Linked DNA regions of Homo sapiens: all the other regions are linked to region 3. The links are contacts of gene promoters, found by promoter capture Hi-C in blood cells and fetal thymus (Javierre and others, 2016). All regions are on one chromosome and are shown on one strand. Each heading gives the region's core, a stretch centred on a gene start or on the middle of the fragment in contact. The rest is flanking DNA. Distances are from core to core; before and after follow the strand shown. Region 1 holds the start of ZNF792 (zinc finger protein 792). Region 2 has its middle 18 kb from the start of GRAMD1A. Region 3 holds the start of SDHAF1 (succinate dehydrogenase complex assembly factor 1).

Region 1 (4,514 bases), core at 970-3,469, 1.0 Mb before region 3:
CCCCTCCATCACCACCATGACCACTACTGTTCCTCACCTGTCTTTATGATGCCAAACAAGCCACAGTCCCCAAGCAAGAACCCTGCTCTCAGTTTTCCAGCCCCACCTTCCTCTTTTTTTTAACATCATTGTCACCATGACCTGAAGTTTCACCTCCTAAATCTCACACACAGCTACACTCCCGTCCACACACCAGATGTCACATTTTGGATGTTTCTAACTGTTGAAATAAACAAAGACCAATGAAATGAGAAAAGCCAAGGCTACTTACTCAAAGCTCACTATAGCAAGAGAGACTCAATGCAAGCCGGGAGTGGGAGAGTTTTATAGCAAAAGAAAAGGAAGGCTTCAGGCGTGCCCTGGTTGGAGGCTCCTGTTCGTAGGTGGGTGAACTAGAAGTGGGCATCCTATGTGATTGGTTAGGGTGCGTATCTGCCTTTCTCTGGTTGTTCTTAAATCAGAAGCAGGAGCAAAAATGAGGAAAGCTGTCTGTTATTAATCAAACCCTGGCCATTTGGGACTGCTCATTACAGAAGTTATTGTTTTTACTTCCTGGATTGTCAGTCCAGATAGCAATCTGGCTTCCTGTGGGTCTGACAGACAGCAGGCTGGCTTCCTGCTGTATGGGTTGTTTATTGTAGATAAGGGGGTTGGTTTCCTGGGCAGGTTCTGGGGCAGAGTTCTATTTGTATACATGATCTGGCCATTGTTCGAATGAATATCCAGTCTCTCATTACCTTAACAACTCCCTCAGAACACCCGAACTGTGTGTTCAGCGGCCCACTCTTCAACTCCATTTGGGGGTCTCTGGGACATCACAGGCTCAACTTGGCCAAAACCTAACTTCTACTGCTTCCATGGAAAATTCCTCCTAAAACCAACTTCTCAGTTCATAAAGCTGGATTCATCAAACCAAAAACCATGGATTCTTCCCTCCTCTTTCTCACCCTCCACATCGGAAAATTTGGTCAGCTTGACTTAAAAGACATCAAGTTCCCAATCACTTCCTCTACCTCCAGTCCTCACTCTGGTCCGGCCAGCCGCAGCACTGGCCTGGGCTATTCCATTAGGCTACTCCTTGGCATCCCTGCTTGCGGCTCACTCCATATTCAGTTCTCCACTGTGCATCCACAGGGAGCCTGTTAAGACCTGAGTCACAGCATCTTCCTCCTCTGCCCTAAACCTTCCATGGCTCCCAACACCCTCAGAACAGAGGCCCAGCTCTGCCGTTCTGAGCTGTCTTCAGCCCACCTGCTCTCTGGTTCCAGCAGACATAATATTAATAACACTGACCTGGGTGGGGTTCCTTGAACACTCCCAACTCAGTCTCCACACCGTGCCCCACCCCACCCCCAAGCTTTTGCGCACGCTGGTTCCTGTGCCTACAAAGCCCTTTCTCCCTCCATCCCATTACATTTCAGCAACGGAAGCCACTTTATATAAACCCTGCCCTGATTCAGGATCCTAGCTGGGAGCAACTCCCTTCCAGGGTCCCCTGACTCAAAAGCAAGGAAATGGGAAAGGCGAAAAGTCCTAGAACAAAGCCATCTTTTGCGTCTCAACACCGAGAACAGAAGCGTGGGGGGCCGACAGCGAAGGGCCTAACGTCCAAGCACTCACCTGCGCGGGGTCCCGCAGCGCCGCCGCTGCCATCGGAGTCTGTGGTCAGAGCAGGGCCCCACGGTGCGGGAAACCACGGGGCGGGGGTAGGGGGTCTCGCAGGCTGAGGCTACCACCCACCTGGCCGTGCCCCAGACGAGGTGTGACCCCGGGCTGAGGGTCGCACTCCTAGCCTCAGTCTCCCCCGTGCAAAATGCGCAAGGGGCCCGGGGCGCAGGCTCCGGGGGCGCCGAGAGCGCGCAGCTCCGCTGGGTACCCCCGTTGCAAGGGGTCACGGCTGGTGCAAAGGCGCGGAGGGGGTCCCGGCCTCACTGTCCCCCTCGCGGTCCGGGAAAGCCGGCGGGGCAGCTTCACGGGCGTAGCCCCAGCCGCCCCGCCCCCAACTCGGGGTCCCCAGCTCCTGGGGACTCAGCCTCCCCGCCGGGAAATGACCTGCGAGGCTGCAGTGCAGGAAGTTCCGGCCCCCACCGTGGCGGCCGGGAGAGTTGCCCTCTCCCGTACTGTCATTGGCCTGGCGCCAGCCGCTGGTGCACAGGCAGGGCCTGGGGATCGCGAGTTTCTGCCCAGCCTCTCGTCAGGCTGAGGGTCCAGGGCGGGAAGGAGAGCGGATCTCGTCGGGTCTCCACCGCCGCCGCCTGCAGCCCTCGGGCCTTCCCCTTAAAGGGGCCGCTCCCGAGCCTGCAGCCGCCCGCGCTAAACCCCGCCCACCCTCCGAGGTCCAGGAGGAGAGCCCCAGTGCTCTTCCTGCGCGTGTGGGCATCGGCCAGCCGCTTCACCCCTAAGGGACCTAAATTCACACTGGAAAATGGGGATAGTACCCAATGGGCGGGGTCTTTGCGTTGTAATATTAAATGTCGCTCTGATTCAGGGCTTCTCAAACCAGCAACATCAGCATCACCTGGGGACTGGCTGAAAATGCAGGTTCTGGGGCAACAACTTAAATCTAAGGACTCAGAAATTCTGGGGATGGGATTCAGCCTTCTCTACTTTTTGCGGGGGGGGCGGGGGGGATGGGTCTCGTTCTGTTGTCCAGGCTGGAGTGCAGTGGCCTGATCATAGCTCACTGCAGCCTCCATCTCGGGCTCAAGCTATCCTCCTGCCTCAGCCTACCAGGTAGATGGGATACAGGCGTGCACCATCATACACAGCTAATTTTAAAATTTTTTGTAGAGACTGGATCTCCCTGTGATGCCTAGGCTGGTCTCAAACTCCTGAGCTCAAGTGATCCTCTCACCTCGGCCTCCCAAAGTGTTGGGAATTGCAGGAGTGAGCCATGGTGCCAGGCCTCCTTCTCTGTTTTAACAAGCCCTCTGGGGACTCCAATGCTGGCTCCAACTTTACAGCAGGGACTCTCATTGAAATCCAGTAAATAAAATGGGAAAAATAACACTACATTGTTGCAGGAAGTCAGGGACCCCGAACGGAGGGACCTGCTGAAGCCGTGACAGAAGAACATTAATTGTGAAGATTTCATGGACATTTATTAGTTCCCCAAATTAATACTTTTATAATTTCTTATGCCTGTCTTTACTGCAATCTCTGAACATAAATTGTGAAGATTTCATGGACATGTATCGCTTCCCCAATCAATACTCTTGTGATTTCCTATGCCTGACTTTACTTTAATCTCTTAATCCTGTCATCTTCGTAAGCTGAGGATGTATGTCATCTCAGGACCCTGTGATGATTGCGTTAACTGCACAGATTGTTTGTAGGGCATGTGTGTTTGAACAATATGAAATCTGGGCACCTTAAGAACAGGATAACAGCGATTTTCAGGGAACAAGGGAGATAACCTTAAAGTCTGGCTGCCTGTGGGACGGGCAGGACAGAGCCATATTTCTCCTATTACCAAAAACGGGTAAGAGAAATATCGCTGAATTCTTTCCCCAGTAAGGAATATTAATAATTAACAGCCCTGGGAAAATAATGCATTCCCAGGGCAGTGCCTCTAAAATGGCTGCCCTGGGAGTGTCTGCCTTATGCACATGTAGATAGGGATGAAACACACCCTAGTCTCCTGCAGCGCCCCCAGGCTTGCTAGGATTAGGAAATTCCAGCCTGGCGAACTCTAGTCAGACCAGTTCTCTGCTCTTGAACCCTGTTAAGATGTTTATAAATGACAATGCGTGCACAGCAGGACATGGAAGCTCATGAGTGATTCTAGTTTTGCCCTGACCTTGTGATCTCGCCCTGACCTTCTGCCTTGTGATCTTTTGTTGCCCTTAAAGCATGTGATCTCTGTGACCCACACCCTATTCGTACACTCCCTCCCCTTTGAAAATTGCCAATAAAAACTTGCTGGTTTTATGGCTCGGGGGCATCACGGAACCTGCTGACATGTGATGTCTCCCCCAGACACCCAGCTTTAAAATTTATCTCTTTTGTACTCTTTCCCTTTATTTCTCAGACCAGCCGACACTTAGGGAAAATAGAAAAGAACCCACATTGAATTATCGGGGGTGGGTTCCCCCGATACTACATGTCATATGGTGAAACCACCTTTGTAAAAATTATAACTGAGAAAATTATGACAGTGAGAGATCTGACCTAACCAACTCCATCTTGCTTCTAACCTCCAAGCTGTCCTTGTTCGTTCCTGAGCATAGGCCTAACTAACTTTGGGAGAAACTCAGTTTACAGTTTAACTTTGAAGCAAAGATAACAGCCCTTTCCCTCTAGGCCGGGCATGGTGGTTCACCCCTGTAATCCCAGCACTTTGGCAGGCCGAGGCAGGCGGATCACGAGTTCAGGAGATCGAGACCATTCTGGCTAACATGGTGAAACCCTGTCTCTACTAAAAATACAAAAAATTAGCCAGGTGTGGTGGCGGGCACCTGTAGTCCCAGCTACTCAGGAGGCTGAGGCAGGAGAATGGCATGAACCCCGGGAGG
Region 2 (4,490 bases), core at 486-2,985, 1.0 Mb before region 3:
AGCATTATATTTTCAGGTGCCTTTCAAATTCTAGACCCAGCGTACATACATACATACATACATACATATATATATTATGCATAACACATCTATGTGCCGTATTTACTTTTTTTTTTTTTGAGATGAAGTCTCACTCTGTTGCCCAGGCTGGAGTGCAGTGGCGCCATCTCGGCTCATTGCAAGCTCCGCCTCCCAGGTTCAAGTGATTCTCCTGCCTCAGCCACCCGAGTAGCTAGGCATGTGCCACCCTGCCCAGCTAATTTTTGTATTTTTAGTAGAGATGGGGTTTCCCCATGTTGGCCAGGCTGGTCTTGATCTCCTGACCAGCCTCCCAAAGTGCTAGGATTACAGCATGAGCCACTGCGCCCAGCCTTTATTTACTTTATAACTGTACTTACCTTATGTAATGAGTATATATGAAGTAGTGCTAAAATATACATATTTAACATTTAAATATCATGCAGCATTAAAAGACATGGCTGGGTCCAGTGGCTCCCATCTGTAATTCCAGCACTTTGGGAGACCGGCAGGCAGACGGAATGAACCCAGGGTTTTGAGACCAGCCTGGGCAAGATGGTGAGACTCCATGCCTACAAACAATACAAAAATTAGCCAGGCATGGTGGCATGTGCCTGTAGTCCCAGCTACTCAAGAGGCTGGGGTGGGAGGATGGCTTGGGCATGGAAGACCAAGGCTGCAGTGAGCTGGGATGGCATCATTGCACTCCAGCCTGGGTGACAGAGCAAGACCCTGTCACAAAAAATAAATAAATAAACAAACAAACAATAAAAGACATATAAATAAATAACTGTCCTCTACCTTGCATCCACATCCCATAATCAATCATTTTCGTCTTTTGGCTCTTCTATTATTGCTTTATGTTGCTGAATAATTTGCATATTCTAATATCTCTTTTGCATTTTAATCAGTATTATTGAAGGATAGTTTATATACAATAAAATGTGTCTCTTTTTTGTTACTTATCGTTTTGAAACACCTGTATTCCACATGTGTTTATTAGGTGTTTACGATGCTCTAAAAGTGCATTACAAATAAGTCATCAAACCACTAGCTTAGCAAATTCACACAGGCATGTCAGCAGTGGGGAAAATAAAACAATTAATTATAATGTCCCATTAATAATATCCTGTAAATATCAAACACAACGCATTTTTTTTCTTTGTCCTCATTGCAAACTATACTGCCTAGGCCATCCGTAAACAAAAATTTTTGTGTGTATTATAAGTATTTCCATCAGTTTGGGATTCTTAAACTCAAAATTCTTGGCTCTACCAGTTGCAAACTTTTAAAATTTTAATTCTAATCAGTCATATAAATGCACAATAGCAAAAGTCAAAGAATTCAACAAGATTTCTAAACCCAGCAGCTCTCTTCTCTACTCCATGCCGTCCCACCCCATCCCCCTCTCCAGAATTAGCCACTCTCTCTTTTAGTGCATAGTTCTATTTTCATCTCCTTTTTTTTTTTTTTTTGAGTTGGAATTTCACTCTGTTGCCCAGGCTGTAGTGCAGCAGTGCCATCTCCGCTCACTGCAACCTCTGCCGCCCGGGTTCAAGCAATTCTCCAGCCTCAGCCTCTCAAGTAACTGGGATTACAGGCATGCACCGCCACACCAGGCTAATTTTTGTATTTTTAGTAGAGACAGGGTTTCACCGTGTTGGCCAGGCTGGTCTCGAACTCCTGACCTCAAGTGATCCGCCCATCTCAGCCTCCCAAAGTGCTGGAATTGCAGGCATGAGCCACTGTGCCCGGCTCCACGTTTATAAATAGCAGGTTTATATACAGTCTTGAATTTGAATGTTATATATTATCAACTTACTTTTTACTAGAAGATGATGAATTCGCTCTTTTCACTCCTCTCCCACACACATATTTCCTTCCCCCCCCTTCAATCCTCCCAGAATTGTCATGTCATGATTTTTATTAAGTTCACTGATTATGTTATGGAGATCAGGAAAATGTTAGAGATGAGCTATGTCGTGCGCTGTCCTTACATTTCTTTCTCATGCAAACTTTTTGCTTTTCTTTACAACTGTAGTTGAGATTTGTCCTTTTCTCTGCTTTGAATAATTTAAACTCCAATCTCTGTCCTTCTGCTCCAATCTATACTTTCTTCAAGCCAGCTGCATGATTCTCCTGCTGGGACTTCACTTCACCATCTAGTCATGTTGGTCCTCCATTTTCTCTTTCCTGGTTTACTCCCTTGTTTAGGGTGAAAATATCTTCCAGGAGCTTCCTGAGAAAGACTGTTTGGGAGGAAACTTTTTGAGACTTTGTTTGTCTGAAAATGTCTAACCCTGTTTCCACTTGAGTGATAATTTGATAGAAGTCCAGGTTAAACAGCAGTTTTTCCCCAGAGTGTCCAATGTCCTCCCACCTGTGATCCTTTGACTGTGATCTGTTTGGCTTTTTTTTTTTCTCTCTCTGGAAACCTCTAGAACTGATGTTCTGAAATATTATTACCATATTTTAACAATTGTGGAGCACTCTGCAGGCTCTTCAAATTTCTTTCAGTTATGGGGACATTTCTTTAATACTTTCTTCACTACTGGAGTTTCTGTTTTCTCTTTTTTGGAATTTCTGAATTTATCCTCTAATTTTCTTATATTGTCTCTTATTATCCACTTTTGTCTTTTATTCTGCTTTCCAGAAGTTTTCCTTTTAGTTTGTCATTGTTTTTTAGAGACAAATTCTCAGCGGCTGGGCACGGTGGCTCATGCCTGTAATCCCAGCACTTTGGGAGGCCGAGGCGGGCGGATCACAAGGTCAGGAGATCGAGACCATCCTGGCTAACGCGGTGAAACCCCTTCTCTACTAAAAATACAAAAAATTAGCCAGGCGTGGTGGTGGGCACCTGTGGTCCCAGCTACTCGGAAGGCTGAGGCAGGAGAATGGCGTGAACCCGGGAGGCGGAGCTTGCAGTGAGCCGAGATTGAGCCACTGCACTCCAGCCTGGGCGTCACAGAGAGACTCCATCTCAAAAAAAAAAAAAAAAAAAGAGACAAATTCTCGCTCTGTCACTCAGGCTGGAGTGCAGTGGCACTATCATAGCCCACTGCAGCCTCAAACTCCGGGGCTCAAGCAATCCTCCTGCCTCAGCCTCCCAAGTAGCTAGGACTGCAGGCTTGTACCACTTGTACCACCATGCCCTGTTAATTTTTTAATAGAGATAGGGTTTCACTATGTTGCCCAGGCTGATCTCAAACTCCTGGTCTTAAGAGATCCTCCCACTTTGGTCCCCAGTGTGGTGGTGTTGGGTGACGGGACTTTTAAGAGGTGATTTGGTCATTAAGAGAGACTGATGCCATTCTCTCGAGACTGGGTTAATTCTGGAGGCAGTGAGTTCTCACTCTTTTGGGACTGGATTGGTTATTGCAAGGGCAGGCTGTTATAAAGTGAGGTTCCCCTTAAGTTTTGCCCCTTTGACACACACCTGCTTCTCTTCTGCTTTTCCATCATGTTATGATGCAGCACTAGCCCCTCCCCCGAAGCCAACCAGATGCCACCCACTCGGTATTGGACTTTTCAGCCTCCAGAACCATGAGCTAAATAAATTTCTGTTCACTATAAATTACCCAGTCTGTAATTTATAGTGGTATATTCTGTTATACCAACAAAAAATGGACTAAAACAATCACTGTCCGTTTAGATTTACCCACACATTTATCATTTTCATTGCTTGTTATTCCATCTTACAGCTCATATTTTCCCTCTGATATTGCTTTTCTTTCTTCTGACCTAATTTTTTAAGAATTTCCTTTAGGGGGATATGTTCATACAAAATATTTCAGTTTTTCTCTGAAAGTGTATTCAGTTCATCTTCATCCTTGAATGATTCTTGGGCCTGCAGTTCTAGATGGACATGTGTTTTCTCCCAGCACATCAAAGCTATTGTTCCATTGTCTTCTCGTTCCCATTTTTGCTATTGAGAAATCAGTAGAAAGTCTAATTTTGTTTTCATATATGTAATCCATCCTTTATTTCCAGCCACTTTTAAGATTATGTCATTTTCTTTGGTATTCTGTGGTTTCTAGGTATGCTTTTTAAATTATTCTTTAAAAACTGAATCGAGGCTGGGCGTGGTGGCTCACTCCTGTAATCCTAATACTTTGGGAGACCAAGGTAGGTGGATCACCTGAGGTCAGGAGTTTGAGACCAGTCTGGCCAACATGGTGAAACCCTGTCTCTATTAAAAATACAAAAATTAGCCAGGTGTGGTGGCACATGCCTGTAGTCCCAGCTACTCAGGAGGCTGAGACAGGAGAATCGCCTGAACCCAGGAGGCGGAGGCTGCAGTGAGCCGAGATCATGCCACTGCATGGCATTTTCTTCATCTGATTTTTTTTTTTTTTTGAGACAGAGTCTTGCTCTGTCACCCTGGCTGGAGTACAGTGGCATGACCTTGGCTGACTGCAACCTCCACCTCCGGGGTTCAAGCCCTTCTTGTTCTTCAGCCTTCTGAGTAGCTG
Region 3 (4,546 bases), core at 991-3,490:
TCCCAGTGGAGGTCATTTGCCCATCCCTAAACAATTACAGGGGTCAGGGGATGGGATATTCTGATTTGTCTCTAAGTAGCCAGGCCTGGGCATGTAACAGAGCTGTAGCCAGAGCCAGAGGGCAGGGATATTACCCAGGAAATCCCCTAGAATAAGAGTGGGCCAGTTCCCCAAAGACAAACTGAGAGACTGTAACCAGAAAACCATTGACAGGCCCTGGGCAGGAGGCAATAGTATTCCCTTTGAGGTTTTGCAGCTCCTTGAGTCCACTGGAAAGTAAAGAAAGTCCCCCTAGGCTGATTGACATAGTTGTCTTGGAGATTAAGGGTCATTTGACAGGAAAAAGATAGATGTTTAAATTCCAGAGTACAAGCCAGCATGGTGGCTCATCCCTATTATCCCAGCTACTTGGGAGGATGAGGCCGGAGTTCAAGACCAATCTGGGCCACATAGCAAGACCCTGTCTCTAAAAACAAAACAAAAAATAAATATTTAAAATTCCAGAGTGAAGCCTGGGCAACACAGCGAGACTCTGTCTCTACAAAAAACAATAAAAGAAGAATTAGCCGGGTGTGGTGGGATGTTCACGTAATCCTAACCACTGGACATGTTGAGGCGAGAGGATTGCTTGATCCCAGGAGATCAAGGCTGTAGTTTCACCAATATGGTGAAACCCCGCCTCTACTAAAAATACAAAAATTAGCCCAGTGTGCTGGCACATACCTGTAATTCCAGCTACTGGGGAGGCTGAGGTAGGGAGAATCACTTGAACCTAGAGGCAGAAGTTTCACCATGTGGATCAGGCTGGTGTCGATCTCCCGACCTCAGGTGGTCCGCCCGCCTCGGCCTCCAAAAGTGCTGGAATTACAGGTGTGAGCCACCGTTCTAGGACATGTATTTTTGATAGATACATACACCTGCCAGGCAGGATTCACAGTGGTTTGTGATTCTCCCCTGACTCCAAGACTCCAAGCCTAATCCCCGCCCCTGACCAGCTTCTCCTCTCTGAAGGGGAATGGACCCCCCAGCTGGTTGCCGGCCCAAGTGTGCAGAGCCGCGGTTGCGCGCTGGGTGGAGGGGTCCCCCAAGCTCCGGTGCTGGTGGGGCCCGAGGATGCTGTGTCCTTGCGGGCCTCCCTAGCGCTACGAGGACACCTCCAGGCGGCCCGCGGGGACAACAACGGCATTGCGGCCTACCACCTAAAGCTCCTGGGAGGACAACGGGGTTGCAGTCTAGTCGACTGTTCAGGGTGTCCCGGACTCCGGGCTTTAACAGTCGGTAAGGACCCAAACACCGCTGTCCACTGCCCCGACTCCCACCCGCAGAGGGCGCGACCAACCCAGCTCCTAGAGCCACACGCTGCCTCTGGGGGCTTGGCGCCCACACTCTCTCTGCTTGTCTTCCCCTGGCCCGAGAAGCCTGTCCAACCGGCCGAGAGCCATTTCCCTACGGGGTCTCGTCCCTCTGCACGTGCCCAGGGCTGGGACCCCAGACACAGACCTGCCCCGGACGAGGGAACGCACGGAGCTTCCCAAGATGGTTTGAATCAGTAACTGACGGCAAAAGCACGCTTGTGCCCGGCGTCTCTCCCAGTGCCCCGTGCCCTTGGGACCCAAAGTCCGAACCGGTAGCCGGGCGCGGTGGCTCACGCCTGGAATCCCAACACTTTGGGAGGCTGAGAATCGTTTGAGCCCAGGAGTTCGAGCCATTCTGGGCAACATAGGGAGACCCATCTCTGCAAATAATAATAATAATAAATAAATAAATAAATAAATAAATAAATAAATAAATAGCGGGCGCGGTTGCGCGCGTCTGTGGTTCCAGCTACTAGGGGAGTTGAGGTGGGAGGATCGCTTGGGCCCAGGAGTTCGAGGCTGCAGTGAGCCAAGATCGCGCCACTGCACTCCAGCCTGGGCGACAGCGAGACCCCGTCACACACAAAAAAACCCCTAGCTTCCTCTTCTCCCAGAATGCAGGAGTTAGGTGAGGACCCTCTGTTCCCTCCAACCCAAGACCTAGGAGTCCGAACACATAACGCCCTCCAGGCGGTGCCAGGATCCCCAGAACTGCTGTCCCCTCAAGAACACACGTCCCCTACGTGGGAGGCCGCGACCAGCGACTCCGCCCACTTCTCCCAGCCGGCTGTTACGTAACTGCAACGACAGCCAGTCAGACGCGGCAGCGCCGGATGGCGGGAGGCGGGAGTTGGAGGCCAAGGGAAGCGCTGGGCGGAAGTGGCTGTGGCTTTGCCCTTTGGCCTTTGCTGGCTGTGTGGCGGCTCCGCGGTTCGCAGGTCGTTCGCTGAGCGTCTCTGCTTAGCCGCGGTCATGAGCCGGCACAGCCGGCTGCAGAGGCAGGTTCTGAGCCTGTACCGCGATCTGCTGCGCGCCGGGCGTGGGAAGCCGGGCGCCGAGGCGCGAGTGCGGGCAGAGTTCCGGCAGCATGCGGGCCTGCCGCGGTCCGACGTGCTGCGCATCGAGTACCTGTACCGCCGCGGGCGGCGCCAGCTGCAGCTGCTACGCTCGGGCCACGCCACCGCCATGGGCGCCTTCGTACGCCCGCGGGCCCCGACCGGGGAGCCTGGCGGCGTGGGTTGCCAGCCTGACGACGGCGACAGTCCAAGGAACCCCCACGACAGCACGGGGGCACCGGAGACCCGCCCCGACGGACGGTGACAGGCGAAGAGCCGAACTCGCTCGATGGCGTGGTGGAGCCAGGAGGCTCGCCTGACTGCATGGGGGGACTGGGGAACCCGCCTAAGGTGAGAGGTCTTAAGAGACTAGCTTGACGAATTGGGGATGTCAGAGACTCCTCCTTGGCGACGCAGGGGGCCTAGAGAGCCCCGTGATGGACGGCAAGGGAGGCCCGCCTTTTCCGATGCTTGGAGACAGGTCGGTGCTCCTCCCCCATGAGGGCTTGGGGCGGCCTGGGACGCTGGCGGGCTGGACAGTGTCAAGCCAAGAGCTACTTGCCCGAAGGTACGGGGAGCCAGGACGACCCCCGGTGGACAGGGAGAGCCTGAGACGCCCTTCTCTTGACCCCTGAGAACATACCCACTTCTGGCTCCTCAAGGAGTCTCCCCTCTCCTGTATTTAACTCTGAGAAGTGCAGACTTTTTGCTGAGAACGTTTTGGGAAGGTGCCCTGATGAGCGGTGAGAAGCCCGGAATCCCCTTCTGGAAAACTTTCCCCCATTAATTGTGACAAGCCAGGACCATGAGGAAGGGGTAGGGGTCTATCACCCTGGTTGATCAACTGAAGACCCCCAAAGGCCCCTACTTGATGGTTTTGAGGGGCAACATTGACTCATTTGCCCCTTCCCTCTCGGAATGTTGGACAAAGGGAATAAAATTGGGGATATGTCTACTTCCCTGTTGGTGGTCTTAAAGCTTTTATATATTTCAGGATTTTTGAAACACCCCCAGCCCCCCTGCCACCACACACACACGCACACAGACACCTGGAAGGGACCATCTGGGAGGTGATAGGTGTGGGGATCTGACTCCTTCCGGAGCCCTGTAGACTGGCACATTGATTGAAGCGGCATAGTTTTCTCCCCTGGGCAGATCTGTGGAGGGGGCTCATCCTGGCTTAACCCCCAAAGATACCCCAGTTGGCTCCCTAATGGAGGGCAAGTGATTTAACATCTTTGTGTGGAAGAGGAAATGGTGGAGCTGAGAACTGGCTCGGAGCCCCTGAGGCAGTAGTGAGGGTCTCAGACCTGGAAATTTCTCAAACCTGGCTGAAGGGTCCAGCCTCAGCTACAGTGAACGACAAGGCCCTGGGGCAGGAGAGGGGAGATGAACCCCATAGATCACAGATATACTCCCTCCGGTGTCCCCATATGGGCCTGCCCTAGACATTCTGTGGAGGGATGCATTTTGCATCGCTGAGCTATATTTGCACCCATATCAGTTAAATAAGTGGAAATGAGTTCTTGTGGATGTAGCTGTGGGTAGGAGGACCACAGGTAAGGAGCATAGACCTCAGACCAAAGGGAGGATGGACGGAAGAGAAACAGTCACTGCCCTAATCCCGGTGGGGGAGCCACATTCCCAAATGGTTATAAAGTGGAATTGCAGTTTGAAGAATTAATTGCCGGGATAGGCTTCTAGGCAAGAAGACCAAGGCTGGGCGCAGTGGCTCACTCCTGTAATCCCAGCACTTTTGGAGGCCAAGATGGGCGGATCACGAGGTCAGGAGTTCCAGACCAGCCTGGCCAATATGGTGAAACCCCGTCTCTACTAAAAATACAAAAATTAGCCAGGCGTGGTGGTGGGCACCTGTAATCCCAGCTACTCAGGAGGCTAAGGCAGGAGAATCGCTTGAACCCTGGAGGCAGAGGTTGCAATGAGCCAAGATCACGCCACTGCACTCCAGCCTGGGCGACAGAGCGAAACTACGTCTCAAAAAAAAAAAAAGACCAGTGTGGGGAAAGGCCTGGAGGGGGCAAAGGGAAGAAATGCAGGGTCTCAGGATCTCAGCTGGGGCCCGGAGTGCCCCAGGCACAAGGCTGTGGGTTTACTTGATTGTGGCTTCTACTTCTG

Evidence for each region. The method cuts DNA at HindIII sites, captures the fragments that hold promoters and counts their contacts. A CHiCAGO score of 5 or more calls a contact.
Region 1: a contact is called between the fragment with the promoter of ZNF792 here and the fragment with the promoter of SDHAF1 in region 3, in 6 of 17 cell types (activated CD4 T cells, monocytes, total CD4 T cells and 3 more). The highest score is 11.4, in activated CD4 T cells.
Region 2: a contact is called between a fragment that was not itself captured here and the fragment with the promoter of SDHAF1 in region 3, in 1 of 17 cell types (neutrophils). The highest score is 5.1, in neutrophils.

The regions. Positions count from the first base shown.
Region 1 is chr19:34,962,010-34,966,523 of GRCh38, forward strand. ZNF792 (zinc finger protein 792) reads right to left here and starts at 2,220. Exons shown (of 4, transcript NM_175872.5): 1 at 1,621-2,220. The coding sequence starts at 1,653. It overlaps LOC124904699 (a long non-coding RNA gene), which reads left to right and starts at 1,417. Exons shown (of 2, transcript XR_007067236.1): 1 at 1,417-1,664. RefSeq lists silencers at 1,562-1,611, 1,722-1,981. The HindIII fragment of the contact is 6,406 bases long and covers 1,356-4,514 here.
Region 2 is chr19:34,980,550-34,985,039 of GRCh38, forward strand. No RefSeq gene overlaps it. Among named protein-coding and RNA genes, the nearest start is that of GRAMD1A, 18 kb to the right of the region's middle. The HindIII fragment of the contact is 6,510 bases long and covers 1-4,490 here.
Region 3 is chr19:35,992,948-35,997,493 of GRCh38, forward strand. It overlaps SDHAF1 (succinate dehydrogenase complex assembly factor 1), which reads left to right and starts at 2,241. Exons shown (of 1, transcript NM_001042631.3): 1 at 2,241-3,365. The coding sequence starts at 2,328. The coding sequence ends at 2,675. RefSeq lists enhancers at 1,204-1,703, 2,038-2,087, 2,348-2,427 and silencers at 2,488-2,547, 2,578-2,697. The HindIII fragment of the contact is 4,511 bases long and covers 1-3,386 here.